3 separate regions of the Homo sapiens genome follow, and all the other regions are linked to region 1. Evidence: promoter capture Hi-C in 16 types of primary human blood cells and fetal thymus (Javierre and others, 2016). All regions are on one chromosome and are shown on one strand. Each heading gives the region's core, a stretch centred on a gene start or on the middle of the fragment in contact. The rest is flanking DNA. Distances are from core to core; before and after follow the strand shown. Region 1 holds the start of GOLGA7B (golgin A7 family member B). Region 2 holds the start of PYROXD2 (pyridine nucleotide-disulphide oxidoreductase domain 2). Region 3 holds the start of ARHGAP19 (Rho GTPase activating protein 19).

The links. Contacts are between HindIII fragments. The CHiCAGO score rates a contact against its expected background, and 5 or more counts as called.
Region 2: the fragment with the promoter of PYROXD2 here is called in contact with the fragment with the promoter of GOLGA7B in region 1 in 3 of 17 cell types (total CD4 T cells, non-activated CD4 T cells and total CD8 T cells); the score reaches 7.5 in total CD4 T cells.
Region 3: a contact is called between the fragment with the promoter of ARHGAP19 here and the fragment with the promoter of GOLGA7B in region 1, in 6 of 17 cell types (non-activated CD4 T cells, activated CD4 T cells, total CD8 T cells and 3 more). The highest score is 9.3, in non-activated CD4 T cells.

What each region holds. Positions count from the first base shown.
Region 1 is chr10:97,847,229-97,852,185 of GRCh38, reverse strand. GOLGA7B (golgin A7 family member B) reads right to left here and starts at 2,343. Exons shown (of 5, transcript NM_001010917.3): 1 at 1,871-2,343. The coding sequence starts at 1,882. It overlaps GOLGA7B-DT (GOLGA7B divergent transcript), which reads left to right and starts at 2,388. Exons shown (of 3, transcript NR_108035.1): 1 at 2,388-2,520. The HindIII fragment of the contact is 7,033 bases long and covers 1,472-4,957 here.
Region 2 is chr10:98,411,598-98,416,554 of GRCh38, reverse strand. It overlaps PYROXD2 (pyridine nucleotide-disulphide oxidoreductase domain 2), which reads left to right and starts at 1,373. Exons shown (of 16, transcript NM_032709.3): 1 at 1,373-1,546. The coding sequence starts at 1,420. HPS1 (HPS1 biogenesis of lysosomal organelles complex 3 subunit 1) reads left to right here. Exons shown (of 20, transcript NM_000195.5): 20 at 1-357. The HindIII fragment of the contact is 3,850 bases long and covers 1-3,567 here.
Region 3 is chr10:97,290,589-97,295,545 of GRCh38, reverse strand. ARHGAP19 (Rho GTPase activating protein 19) reads left to right here and starts at 2,909. Exons shown (of 12, transcript NM_032900.6): 1 at 2,909-2,974. The coding sequence starts at 2,919. It overlaps ARHGAP19-SLIT1 (ARHGAP19-SLIT1 readthrough (NMD candidate)), which reads left to right and starts at 2,873. Exons shown (of 15, transcript NR_037909.1): 1 at 2,873-2,974. RefSeq lists a silencer at 3,188-3,237 and enhancers at 2,582-3,338, 3,339-4,097, 4,856-4,957. The HindIII fragment of the contact is 8,887 bases long and covers 1,477-4,957 here.

The DNA.
Region 1 (4,957 bases), core at 1,094-3,593:
AAGACTCAAGTTCTTATCCCATCCCTGCCACCTTTTAGCCATATTTTCCTGAATAAGTCTCAGCACTTCAGTTCCATCATCTGTAAAATGGGATAATGATGCCTTCTTTGGCTCCTTCACAGGGACCAGGCAAGTTTCTGAACCTTAGTTGTCTCATCTGTTAATTGGGCATAATAACACCATCCTTACCCACTTCATAGGGCTGCTCTGAGGCTTGAAAGAGATCACTTATGCGATAGTGCTTTGTACACAGGAAAGCGCAATATTTTCAGAGGCGTTATGAGCAGAGCCCCTCCCAGGGGAGAGTCACACATGTCTCATAGCAGCCTCCTGGAAACGCTGTCTTGACATAGAGATAGAAGCCTGCTGGTTGGAATCTGTGGGCCATGGCAGACATCCTGGGACAGATGGGCCTGTTGGAATCTGTCAGATCACATCGCAGAGGCAGCTGCCTTCTCTGCCCACGCTGCTGGCCCAGCCATGCCCATGTAGCTGAAGTTCCCCTTTTCTGTCCAACACAGCAGCCTCTGCTGCAGTCTGGCAGCCCTATCTGGAAGGTAACCAACTCCTTGGTTTCTCCCTTTGTTCTTCCTGCTGTCCTCCATGTCTTTGGTGCTTTGTGAGTACTCTGCATTCCTCTACTCTAGAAACCAAGCTCCCAGGGTCTGCCCAGGGCTTGCCCTCACACCAAGTCCTGAGGGGCAACTCTCCGCCTAGCTAACCTTGTGCCTTGTCAGAATGCCAAGCAATGCCAAGCAACAGCACCTTGTTCTGTGGTGGAAACTTGAGTGGAATAACAACAGCCACACTTGGTATTAATGTCACACTGCTCACCAGGATGCCCAGAAGCACTGCATTGAATCATTCACAGGCCTCTGCTCTCCCCCAGTGTATGCCAGCTGGATTGGAAATGGGGAGACACCACAAAGGAAGTCAACATCAGAACTGGGGAGACCCTGATGTCCTGAGTTTCGCTCCAAAAATTCAAAGGCAAAAACTTTCCGCTCTGCTGCTGACATGCTGTGTGGAGTAGCAAATTAGTCCTTTCGTTTTCCACACATCACCTTTATCATGTATAAAGTGGGAACATAAAGAGCCCAATCTCCCTCCTGAAATGAGGGGGGAAAGGGCAATCCCTAGGGGTAGAGGGGGGAATCCTCGACCTCAAGCATTATACCAAGATTCTGCCCTTAGCTAACAGGCCCCGTGGTTCAGCCTTCAAGTGCTTGAAGGTGACACACCTATCAGTGCACCTTGAAGAAGGCAGAAACTCCCATCAGATGGAGGGGAAATCTGGACACCCTGGGACAAAAAAAAAAAAAAAACTCGAATGGGGTAAAAAAGCAAGAAGGGTGATATGCAAAAGTGGAGACCAACCATTTGGGTTCTCAGCCTGAGGATGTCTTTGTCCCCTCCCTCCCGCAAAGGAAATGCGGATGTAGAGGTAAGTCTGTCATCCCTTAGCCAAGCTTTTGGGTTCAGAAGCTGACTGCATAGCAACAGCGGACAGCCGCCTTCCCTCCCCTCACACACGCACACACACGCGTCTCCAACCCTCTAGGAAAGCGGTTTCAGGACTTGTGAAGTCCAGGGAAGGGGAAACCCCAGCCTGGGGCCCTGAAGCAACCCTGGCGCTAATGCCAACAAGTGTCGCGGACAGCTTGGGGGCTCAGGTGGGGCGAGGGGAAGATTGACACGCAAGGGGGAGATGAGCCCTCACTAAGCCCCTACCTCCTCCCTCCAGACCTGACCTGGGGAATCACCCCATCCCACCCCCAACTCCCGCCTCCCACTCCTGCCCAGCCCACCCCTAGGGCATTTGGTCCCGCGGCAATCGGGCACTGCCTGCGGGTGGGGCGCTCGCCCCTACCTCGGTGGCCATGATCCGGGGGCGCTCGGAGGCTGTCGCGGGGCCGGGCGAGGGGGGTCTCCGCGGTGCTGACCCCGGGAGCAGGTGGGCGGCGGCGGTGGCGGCGAGCTGGGGCCCGGGGCGCTGTCCGCAGTGCTGATGCGGGCGCCGCGGGCCCGGGCTCAGGTGGGCCGGGGGCGGGCGGGCGGCTGGGTCCAGGCAAGGGGCGCGGCGCTGTCCGCTGTGCTGAGGCAGGCGCCGGGCCCGGGAGGCGAGGCCGCGCCCGAGGCTCCTCACGGCCCGATCGCCCGCTGCCGCGGCTCCTGCAGGCAACGGCCGGGTTTAGCTTTGGCGGCGGCGGCGGCGGGGATGGGGGCGGCCGGGGGAGGAGGGGCCAGGAGCCGCCGCTGGCCGGGAGGGGGAAGCCGCGGCCCCCAGACTCCGGCGCCGCCGGAGAGGAGCCCCGCCCGGGCCACAGGCTCGGCTACCGCCCCGCGCGAGGCCCCGCCTCCCCTTCCTGCCCTCCCCCTCGTGAGAGCCCCGGAGCTCTGCGCTCGCTTCCGTGGCCCCCGGGACATCCAGCCTGAAGGACAGTGGGGCAGGAATTTTTCCGGGGCAAGACGCTTCAGCCTGCAAGGCTGACCGCTCCCGAGCCGCTCGCAGGCCCGCAGGTGAGGCCTCTCTACCTTTCCAGCCACCCCCAGTGCCCCGGCTCTACCCCTCCCTCGCCCCGCCCCCAGCTTCCTCTTTAGAATAATTTCTTTTCTTTCTCTCCCTTTTCCTCTCTGTGTGCCCCCCCCCCATATACACACAGTCAGGCTTGCACGGACGGCCCCTCTTTTCCCCTCTCCTTTGCACTTCCTGGAACCCCACTAGCTAGACAAAGATCCTGCCGACCGCAGAGAATCATTTCCTTTCTTTAAATACGTGCCCACATTTCGTTCTCAGCCATAGCCTGGGGTCCCTTCTTTCAGGCAGCTCCAGAATTGAAGCCAGTCTCTCCTTGCTGCTCTTCCTGGACCTGGTCCCCACCCTTTACTCTTCCCTCTCTCCTCTGCAACCCGAGTTTACATACACGCACCACCACTACCACCACCACTCAAAAACCACAAGCAGATGGTGCCAAACCGGTATGCTCACTCTCCAAGGATGGCAGGTCTGGCTCTGGTGCCACCTTCGCACTTTTGACATCATAAATTCCAACTAAATGATCTATTTGTTTAATAAAAAGGAGACCAGGTGCAGTGGCTCACACCTGTAATCCCAACACTTTGGGAGGCTGAGGTGGGAGGATTGCTTGAGCCCAGGAGTTCAAGACCAGCCTGGGCAAGACCCTGTCTGCACAAAAAATGAAAACATTAGCCGGGCGTTGTGATGTGTGCCTGTGGTCCCAGCTACTCAGAAGGCTAAGGCAGGAGAATCACTTGAATCCAAGAGTTCAAGGCTGCAGCTAGCCATGATTGTGCCACTGTACTCCAGCCTGGGCAATAGAGCAAGAGCCTGTCTCTTAAAAAAATAAAAATAAGGCCGGAAGCAGTGGCTCATACCTGTAATCCCAGCACTTTGGGAGGCCGAGACGGGTGGATCACCTGAGGGCAGAAGTTCAAGACCAGCCTGGCCAACATGCTGAAACCCCATCTCCACCAAAAATACAAAAAAAAATTAGCCAGGCATGGTGGCACCCGCCTGTAGTCCCAGGTACTCAGGAGGCTGAAGCAGGAGAATTGCTTGAACCCGGGAGGCAAAGGTTACAGTGAACTGAGATCACACCATTGCACTCCAGCCTGGGCGACAAGAGCGAAACTCTGTCTCAAAAAATAAATAAATAAATAAATAAATAAAATAGACATAAAAAAAAGGAAACACCAACACAAGTGCCTTTTTACATACCCATAATACCCCTTGGTCTCTTTGAGGGGTGGTGGGGTGTGCTCCTCTGCAGCTCACTGCTGCCTGAGAGTCTGAAGCCCACACACAGGGAGAACCTGGCGGCCAAGAGACCTGGCCCAGGCTTTTCCAGCTGTATAACCTCGAGCAACTGTCTTGTTTTCTGAGCTTATGGTTCTCTTTCTGTAAAATGTGAGTGTTGGATTTCACTAGACTGTTTCTAGGACCTTTTGTTTTTTCTCCAACCTTTTATTTTGACATTTTTAAACATACCAAAATGTTGAAAGAATAGTACAATAAACTATGCCATCTACCTAGCTCCAACAATTGCTTTTTGCCACATTTGCTTTATTGATAGATATGAAAACAGAGCTATATTTGCCTAGATTATCAGAAGGTGACAGATATCGTGGCCGGGCGCGGTGGCTCACGCCTGTAATCCCAGTACTTTGGGAGGCCGAGGTGGGCGGATCATGAGGTCAGGAGATTGAGACCATCCTGGCTAATACGGTGAAACCCCGTCTCCACTAAAAAATACAGAAAAATTAGCCGGGCGTGGTGGTGGGCACCTGGGGAGCTACTCCCCAGCTACTGGGGAGGCTGAGGCAGGAGAATGGCATGAACCCAGGAGGCAGAGCTTGCAGTGAGCCGAGATTGCGCCACTGCACTCCAGCCTGGGTGACAGAGCGAGACTCCGTCTCAAAAATAATAATAATAATAATAATAATAAGGTGACAGACATCGTGAGGTTTTATCTGTAAGTACTTCAATGAGATTTTATCTGTAAGTACTTCAATTCACCATGCATCTCCCAAGAAGAAAAGCGTTATCCCAACTAGGCACAACACCATTCTCATGCTTTATTTTATTTTATTTTATTGAGATAGGGTCTTGCTCTATCACCCAGGCTGGAATGCAGTGGCACCATCTCAGCTCACTACAACCTCTGCCTCCTGGGTTCAAGTGATTTTCAGCCTCCCAAGTAGCTGGGATTACAGGCACGCACCACCATACCCAGCTAATTTTTGTATTTTAAGTAGAGACAGGGTTTCACCATGTTGGCCAGGCTGGTCTCAAACTCCTGAGCTCAGGTGATCCGCCCACCTCAGTCTCCCAAAATGCCAGGATTACAGGCATGAGCCACCGCACCCAGCCAATTATCATGCTTTTAAAATGCCCATATTATCTAATATTCTAGAACAGTTTGTCACCCCTAAAACA
Region 2 (4,957 bases), core at 124-2,623, 570 kb before region 1:
CTGATCTCTTCCTTGCAGGGAACAGCTTTGGGGCTGGGGGAACTAGAACCCACATGTTGGTCTAAACCCTGAGAAGGTGGCAGTGAGGAAGTATCCCCTCAGGTGACTGGATCTGTGTTCCTCCTTAACATCATCTGATGGAATGGCAATGAAAAGCGTGGATTGTGGAAAATACAGAAAAACATAAAGGAAAAAACTCCAATCCCCTGAGCCCACCACTGTTCAGGACCCCTGCTTTTGTCACCTACTATTTCCCTTTAGTTTTTAGCAGCGGCTGGATGTGATATGTCTAGTTTAACCAGTCCCCTTGATCTTTCTATATAATAAATAACACAGGAGTGAACATCCTGAATCAGATCTTAGCAGAGATGCTCACATGCGGGGTAACTGTCCATGGTGTGTGGAGGGGTCCTCGGAACCCCCTCTTAGGATCATCTCCACATACTCTCCCAGTTCTGAGATTCGTTACCAATAGCAGGTTTCCGTCACACTGCGATATCAGAGCAGTGCAGGAACTCTCCGCTCCAAGGGGTTTTTTCCTCCTAGGGGAACACTCTGCTAAGTAATGGGCAGAGAACAAAGGGGCTCCTAATTCAAGGCAGGCCTAAGGGAGGGTCAGAAAGAACTTTAGCTGGAGGTATTTACAGATGTGACCTCGAATCCTTGGGGATTCTTGGAAAATGGGCAAGGTGCCAAAAGAGGAGAACTGGCCAGGCCTTCAAAACTAAAACACCAGAGAATTACAGACAGCGAACTTGCCCCTAAGCCCTCGTTGTGGGTTTGTGTTTGAGCATTTAGGAGAGGACTCCAGTGCTCCTCAGCGACAGACACAGCTGCCTCTGCGGTGTCTGAAGGCCCTGGTCGTGGTGACGCTAGATGGCCGCCCTGGGCGCCTCCTGTGGGCGTAGAGGCATCACCACTCTGCACTGGCAGACTCAGCATGGAGTTGGAGCAGAGTCTGACACGAGCACTTGCCATCCCAGGCGTTTCAGTTCTGACTGAGAAGGTAGATGCACAGGGGAGGAGAGGGCCCTTTCGAGCTCCACTCTGCCTCCACCACTCATTCCCTAACCCCGCAGCCTCAGCGCCCTCATCTGTAAAATGGGGAGTTTTGCCTACAGGGTTCAGCACAATGCCAGCCTGACATAGGAACCCCAGTGGATTGTCAGTTTTGCCATTATCCCCTGCATCCTGGAGGTGACACCGCCTGGTTAATAGGCAACACTCCCGACGGCCCAGCACAGCCCCAGGGCAGCAGGAGGCTGGCCTGTGGCCAAGAATGCATGGTGGAGGGGGCCTGGAGGGGGACTGCAGCTCCTCCTCTTCCTGCTTCCTCCCTGCTCCACCCCGTGCCTAGGGCAGCACAAAAGCCAATCGCTAGCAAACTCCCTGCCTAGCAAGGCCCAGCCTGGGGCAGAAATGGCTGCAAGTGGCCGAGGTCTCTGCAAGGCTGTGGCCGCCTCTCCCTTCCCGGCGTGGAGACGAGATAACACGGAAGCCAGGGGAGGTCTGAAGCCTGAGTATGATGCGGTGGTGATAGGAGCAGGTAAAGTGGTAAAGCAGGCCGGGCCAGAGCTGAGGGGCGGGAAGACAGCCCTGCTCAGAGCTTGGTGGGGAGGGGGAGGGGGAGCCAAGCCCCACTGCTCTCTCCTCTGGCATAACCCAGCCAGAAGTTTATACGCTAGCAGGGGCTGCAATGGAAAGCCCTTCCATCTGGCAGGCAGGCACCTGGGATTCCGGTGCTGGCTCTGCTGTGTGGCCTGGGGCAAATGCTTGCCTTCTCTGGGCTTGGATCTTCCCATGGAGAATGACAGGAAGACTAGGTGAGCTCAGGGGTTTCCCTATATCTCTTGCAAAGTGACCTAGTTTCCACCACATTCTCAGCCTATGGTTTGTAAGGGTTGGAAAGAGCCCTGGGCCAACAGACAAGTGAAATCCAGCACCCCGCCCCCTCAGTGCCCTGAGTTCTGGTCACCACTACCTTACCACTGAGGCCACCCCTCGTCACAAGAAACTGCAGTCATTTCATAAAGGCCAGTTAGGATAAAACAGAACTGAGTCCCAGAGTTCCTACTGCGTGTCTGCAGAGGGAGATGGACCCCATTGCCTTGCAGCTCTGGGACATTTGGGGATCTGCAGTGATCTGCCACACTTTGCCAACCCCTGGGCTCAGAGTATCACAGTCTACTGGGTGCTAGGGGAAGAGGCAGGCCCAGGACCAGGTGGTCTTTCCTTAGTGCCTTCCTTTCACACTTGCAGAGGGCCCCAAATGCATGATTGCCAACTGGGTCTATACAGAGATAATGACGGGACCGAAAGCAGACGGCACTCAACATGCAGCTTTGAGGGCATGCCTTCATTTTCATATGTACTAGAGCAGTTGCGAGCTGGTAGATACTCAACACTCACCTCTCCAGGGAAAAATGTGTGATGTATGTGTGTGTGTACATGTATATATATGTATATATACACACATATATGTGTATATATATGTATATGTGTTACGTACATATATATACACATATACACATGCTTATTTTAAATATTGAAATAAAAGATACACTGCACACAATTTTACAAATAAAGATACAATACTCTCAATTTAAATGCAGTCTACCCGAGTGATTCTTACCAAAGGCTTTCTTTGATTTTTGCCAAACTCAGTAGCCAACCTATAGTTGCAAATGACAAATGAGGGTAGCTCCAAAGAGAACGGTGCTCCATATTTTCTGTAAAGAGTAGGATGATCGTGAAACAAATGAAACAACAAAGATTTATGTCCCAACCTTACTCCTTTATTTTTTAAAATTTATTTTTATTTTATTTATTTATTCATTTATTGAGATGGAGTCTTGCTCTGTTGCCCAGGCTGGAGTGCAGCGGCGCAATCTCGGCTCACTGCAACCTCCGCCTCCTGGGTTCAAGCGATTCTCTTGCCTCAGCCTCCCGAGTAGCTGGGACTACAGGCGCCCACCACCACGCCCGGCTAATTTTTGTATTTTTAGTAGAGACGGGGTTTCACCATGTTGGCGAGGCTGATCTCAAACTCCTGGCCTTGTGATCCACCTGCCTCAGCCTCCCAAAGGGCTGGGATTACAGGTGTGAGCCACTGCGCCCGGCCTCCTTCTTTAAATGACAGGAATGATGTTACTCAAATAAGATAATATTGTTCTAATACTAGAATATTTCCTTCAATTTTTGTGCTATTTATTCATGCTATAACAGCTAACACTGTTAGGTTTAATCTGCATTATTAGCATTTTCCCATCACTTTCTTAAGCCTGACCACAAAAAATAAATTCAGCCCTTCTGTGTAATATTTGCTGATGACAGTGGTGTAAATACTCCCACCATAGCCTTTTCTGTTACCAAGATGAGGTTGCTCAATGTGATTTAGGAGAGATACCCAGTAGCACATCATTGTATAGTGTGTCCACCATGCAGATATGTACATAGAGGCCAGTGACTGCCAGGGCATGGGCAACAGTCAAATGTAGTAAAACAAATAGGAGGTAGTGTGTTTTGAGTATTTATTACCTTTGTTTTTAATTTATTTAATTGTAAGCTTATATAATTTAGTTTATATCAATGGCTGTTTGACAGCCGGCTCACAAACTCCCCGGGCTGGTGGGAGCCATCTCCAGCACCTCACTTAGCCTCAGAGAAGCCCCCTGCCTCCTTCCGTGCTCAGCCACAGCTCACCCTGCTGTCTCCTAATGGGGAAGGTTGACTTTAGGTCACCAGCTGCCTTGGTGACTTGCCTACAAGTGCGAGTGAGTCTCAGTGTGTGAGCTTTTCCTTGACATGATTTCTTTAGTTGCTAAACATACCATAAAGCCTGGTTTAAAGGCATCTTGGGCCTCAGTGAGGAACAGAACGGCATCTTCTGAGACAAGGGTTACCTCTGAGTCCCTGAAGGCACACTGGCACCTGGCCGCCACCTTGAAGATGAATCTCATTTAGTCATTTGACTAAATGTGCCTGAGAGTGACTGAGGGGGCTTGTTAAAATGGAGATTCCTGGCCCCATACCTGGTGACGAGCATTCTGAGGGCGGGAGGTGTCTCCCAGAGGTCAGCACATCCACCCAACCAACACTGCCTGATGCAGGCAGCTGCAGAGCCCACGCCCAGAGCAGCTCCTCAAGGGCCCAGGCGCCTGCTATGGGGCCCCTGAGGCAGGTCTGGGGATTAGCAGAGCCCGCAGCTGAAGTCCTCTTCAAGGGAACAGAGGTGTCACCAGAAGCCAAGGAGGGCTCAGCCAGGACTTGAGGGTGGTCACTGGGAGGGGGTCTTGTGCTTTGGATCCTTGACCTTACTCATTTGAGGTCTGCCATGATTGAACTGGACCCAGTTGCCTGGAAGACTATGAGTTTTCCAAGATCGATCATCAGCACCAATTAAAAGACAAATAGCTCCCATTTATCTCATCCTTGCCACACTGCAGGGTCCCTGGCACCCTCTGTTCCCCATGTGAAGAAACTCAAGGCTCAGGGCAGCTGATGACTCTCTGAGGTCATGCCCTGGCAAATAGCAGAGGCTGGGCTGAGCCCAGGACTGTCTGCCTTTAGTTTGCTGCATGTCTTTGAGAGACAGATTCCATCTGTTCATGAGTCCCACTGGCGGATTGTTTAAACTTTCTTATGAACATTTTCAAAAGCCCATACAAATAAAGAGTATGTCAACCAGCACTTTTTAAGATGAACTGTAACCAACTAGCTTCTCACATGCTTCTCATATGGTAAGAGTTAATTTTAGCTCATGAAACTTTTGGTTCTGTGAAACACCTGCTGAACAGACTCCTGGGAAGGGGGTCTGTGGGAGTCGACATTTATACAACCTTCCAGGTGATTCTGAGCTTATCAGAGCTGGAGAGGCACTTGCTACCCAGGGGCTTGGTGTGGAACGTGAGATGCCAAAGCCAAATTCAGGCCTCTCAGCTCAAGGCACCCTGAAGCA
Region 3 (4,957 bases), core at 1,660-4,159, 560 kb after region 1:
CTCAGCCTCCCAAAGTGCTGAGATTACAGGTGCGAGCCACCTCGCCTGGCCTTTTTTTCTCTTTTCTTTTCTTTTTGAGACAGTCTCACTCTGTTGCCGAGGCTGGAGTGCAGTGGCACATGATCTTGGCTCACTGTAACCTCCACTTCCTGGTTTCAAGCGATTCTCCTGCCTCAGCCTCCTGAGTAGCTGGGATTACAGGTGTGTGCCACCATGCCCGGCTATTTTTTTGTATTTTTAGTAGAGATGGGATTTCACCATTTTGGTCAGGCTGGTCTTGAACTCCTGACCTCAAGTGATCTACCTGCCTCGACCTCCCAAAGTGCTGGGATTACAGGCGTGAGCCATCACACTTGGCTTCTTTTTCTTTTTTTGTTTTTTGTTTTTTGTTTTTTTGAGACAGGGTCTTGCTCTGTCAGGGTGGAGTGCAGTGGCATGAACATGGCTTGCTGTAGTCTCAATCTCCTGGGCTCAAGTGATCCCAGCCTGGATTTTCTAAGGCTGTCTGAGGTTCAATGAAAAATTTCACTGATACGTTTGCTAAATTTTATGTTTCTTTCCATGTATTTGCTCAATAAACATGATTTGTTAAACATCAAACTAAATAAGACTGGGCATGGTGGCTCACACCTGTAGTCCCAGCACTTTGGGAAGCCTAGGTGGGTAGATCACTTGAGTTCAGGAGTTCGAGACCAGTCTGGCCAACGTGGCAAAACCCATCTCTACTCAAATACAAAAATTAGCCAGATGTGGTGGCACACACCTGTAATCCCAGCTACTTGAGTGTCTGAGGCTGGAGAATTGCTTGAACTCGGGAGGCAGAGGTTGCAGTGAGTGGAGACCATGCCACTACACTCCATCCTAGGCAACAGAGTGAGACTCTGTTTCAAACAAAAAACATAAAAAACATCAAACTAAATGCAATTTTATTTGGACACATTTATCAAACTTTTATTTTCTTTTTTAGAGAAAGGGTCTCATTCTGTCGCACAGCCTGGAGTTCAGTGGCACAATCATAGCTCACTTTAACCTTGAACTCCTGGGCCCAGGTGATCCTCCTGCCTCAGCCTCCAAAAGTGATGGGATTATGGGTGTAGGCCACTGTGCCTAGCCCTTATCAAACTTTTAGTATTAATTCATCAATTGAAAAAAATCTATTAGAGTATATGATTTGATTTTTTATTTGGATATAATAGTTTGAGGACTTGCTTATATTTTTCAAAAATATTTATTGGACAGCCATTATGTGCCAGAAACTGTGGGGAGCAAAATAAATATAGTCTCTGCCCACTTGTGGCAGGAAGCCTAGCTGGGAACCCTCACATGAAATAAATAGTCACACAAATGACTATGTAATTGTGAGTTGTGATATGAACTGTGAAAGAATAGTACAGAGTTCTTTGTGAAAGTTTACTGAGGGAATTGATTTATACAATGGGGGTCATGGAAGATCTTTGAGCCAGTGACATTTAAGCTTCGACCTGAAAGCCAAAAAAGTGGAAAAATGGACGAGCCAGAAAAAGCAACATGTGCAAAAGCCCTAAGACAGTTCAGAAAGTGAAGCATGTGCAGTACAGTTTAGTAAAAAGGAGGCAGAGTGCAGGGAGAGCCCCAGGTGGCAGGATATCAGAAGGATCAATACAGAAATTCCCGAGAAAAGTCCAGCATAGGAAAACAATATGGAAAAACAAAAAACAACAATGCTCAAAATTTACAATGTTCTCACATATGTTGCCTCAGTTAATCCCTAGGAGAAGTGTGTGCCGCAGGGAGGACAAGGATAATTATGGTTATTCCTACCATTGAGGATTAAAGTTTAGTTTGGGACAAAGTCATGCAGCTTTTGGTTCCATGGTTCATATCACAAGGCAAACTCTGTGGGTTCTCTGGGAAGTTGGAAGGGAGTGAATGTATTGAAGCAGAAATGACCGACTCCAGCCTGGCCAACAGGGTGAAACCCCATCTCTACAAAAAGTACAAAAATTTGCCCTGTGTGTTGGTATGCTGCAATATTGTACTGTGCTCCAGCATGGGAGACAGAGGGAGACCTTATCTCAAAAAAAAAAAAAAAAGAAAGAAATAAAGGAAGAAAGAAATGACCTATGGCTAGGGCTATGCTGAGTATCTGAAGAAAGAAGGCTTTGAACTATACGTTTAAAAGCAAGTACTTCTAGGTTGCCACTCCCTGCCTGCACTTGAGGGATTTATCTCTGGGTCAAGACAGAGAACGAGTCTTGCATTAAATTACATTAAATTAAATGAATTAATTTATGGCTGGGTGCAGTGCCTCATGCCTGTAATCCCAGCACTTTGGGAGGCTGACATAGGAGGATTGCTTGAGCTCAGGGGTTCGAGACCAGCCTGGGCAACATGGTGAAACCCTGTCTCAACAGAAAAAAAAAATTAAAAAAATTGTAAAAAAAAATTATTTATTTTCAACTTTTATTTTAAATTTAGGGGGTACATGAGTTGGTTTGTTATCTGGGTATATTGTGTGATGCTGAGATATAGGGTACGGAGTCTTGCATTTTAGAAAGTGATGAGTCACTTTCAAAGTTGACAGTTCTATAATTCCCTGATTTACATATCAGGACAAAATTTGAGCATAGGCTGGTGATTTCTGACTTGAACCTAAAGGTCTGTGGAATCGGAAGGGTTCATCAAAATGAGAAACTACAACTCCCGGCAGGCCTCGGGGCTGGGTCTTCTTCCCCGCCCCTCCCTCTTTTTCCGCCAGGGCTGGGAACGACCAATGACGGTTAGTCATTTGAATAGACCAATAATATATTAAACGGTTCAGGTTGAGGAGGGGCGGTCGAGTCATCCAATCGCACGGAAGAGGTGAAAACATATTAGCCAATCCAAATATGTGGGGGCGGGACGTAAGGTGGGGCGGTGAAAGAAGTTTGCTGACGAAGATGGCGACTGAGGCACAGAGTGAAGGGGAGGTGCCAGCCCGCGAATCCGGCCGGAGGTGAGCTGAGTTTGGTCCAGTTTCCTGGGAAACGCGGCCTTGGGCTGGTAGTCCTGCCGCCTTTGCCTTGGGTCACGGAGGCGCACGGTTCGGGCTTTGTTTCTTTCTCCCACGGCGTTTCTCATCGTCGCGCCTGCGGGGGCTGAGGCGCGGGGGTCGGGCCTGGGCGCTGGACTCCAGCCAAACCCCCCGCTCGGTCCTGCCGGTGCCCGAGGGGGCTCCTCCCGCTGCGCTGGCTGCAGACGTCCAGCTGGGGGTGGCAGCGCTGATCGCTTTGGCGCCGAGACACCTCTTGATGGCGAGGAAACGGAAGTCCAGGGCTGGTTAGCGAATTCCTCACTGTTGCACACAGCGCTTCACATCTTCTCCGAGGCACTTTGTGCGTTCAGGTCCGAGCAAGGATTTGAGTGTCAATTAGAAACAGTGTTGAGTCCTTGGGCCAGTTTTTAAACCTCTCTCGACTTCAGTTTCTTCATCTGCAAAGGGACGTGAGGATGCCTATTTCCAAGTGTCAAGATTGAATAAGACAATCCATTTAAAGCTAGCACTGAGTTTAGCCGATAATGACAACTCTACGCAATAGATTTTCTTCTTCCTAGTAGAACAGCTAAGGAGCAGATGGGAGAGGGATCTGTAGTCCAGGACATCATGACTTTATTTCCACAGGATGTTCTTTCCTAAACAGCCACACCGAGATTTAGCGTTTTCAGGAGAGAATTTCGAGGTGGTGTTGCCTTAGCCTTGAGACCTAAGTTGTCTTAATTGATTACAATTTTGTTTTTGGTGTAATTCAATAGATTGAGTTTATTTACGTTGCCTCAGTGTAACTCAGTAAAATACTTCGGTTTGGCGTCTTTTGGTTCCATTTGTACCGAATAAGAGATTCCAAGAATCTTGGGAAACTAATAACTTTGTGACTCGGCTTCTTCCTGAGCCCAGATGAGCGTGGTTGAGTGTGTTATTTAAAATATCATACGGGGCCGGGCATGGTGGCTTACGCCTGTAATCCCAGCACTTTGGGAAGCCGAGGGGAGCGGATCACCTGAGATCAGGAGTTCGAGACCAGCCTGGCGAACATGATGAAAGCCCGTCTCTACTAAAAATACAATAATTAGCCGGGTGTGGTGGCGGGCGCCTGTAGTCCCAGCTACTCAGGAGGTTGAGGCGGAGGTTGCAGTGAGCCCAGATGCGCCATTGCATTCCACCCTGGGTGACAGAGCAAGACTATGTCTCAAATAAATAAATAAAATAAAATATGATATGGAAGAGTTTTCCACTCTTTTTTGTTTTGTTTTGTTTTTGTTTTGCAGTTGCAAGATTTCATAGAGTGAAATAGAGTGAAAACACAGCTCCCACACAAAGGGAGGGGACCCAAAGTGGGTGGCCGTTGCTGGCTCTAATGCCTGGGTTTATATCCTGATCCTTGTCCCTCCCGCTGTGCTCTCAGGCAAGAGATGATTGGCTATTTCTTTACCTCCTGTTTTTGCCTAATTAGCATTTTAGTGAGCTCTCTGATTGGTTGGGTGTGAGCTAAGTTGCAAGCCCCGTGTTTAAAGGTGGATGCGGTCACATTCCCAGCTAGGCTCAGGGATTCTTAGTTGGCCTAGGAAATCCAGCTAGTCCTGTCTCTCAGTCCCCCTTCTCAACAGGAAAACCCAAGTGCTGTTGGGGAGATTGGCCGATGACCGCCCTAACTGCTTCCTGCTGAATTGGGGCGTAGTAGGGGTTGTGCAGTTGAGATTTCCTCGGGAGGGTTGCCTTCGATGTCATTAACATCGGAGCATGGGCTAGCAGGCTGTTCCAGGGGTCCGCGGTGGATCTTAGTCATAGACTGCATCTGGGGCTCCATTTGAAGAATGATTTGTAGTTTTACAGTTTCAATTCTGGAAGAGACAAACGCTTTGGATGCCCCTTCGTGGTCACCAAAATGTTACCGGGGGTCCTTGCTCACAGAGCTCCCAAGATGGTGGCCAGCCGCTTCTA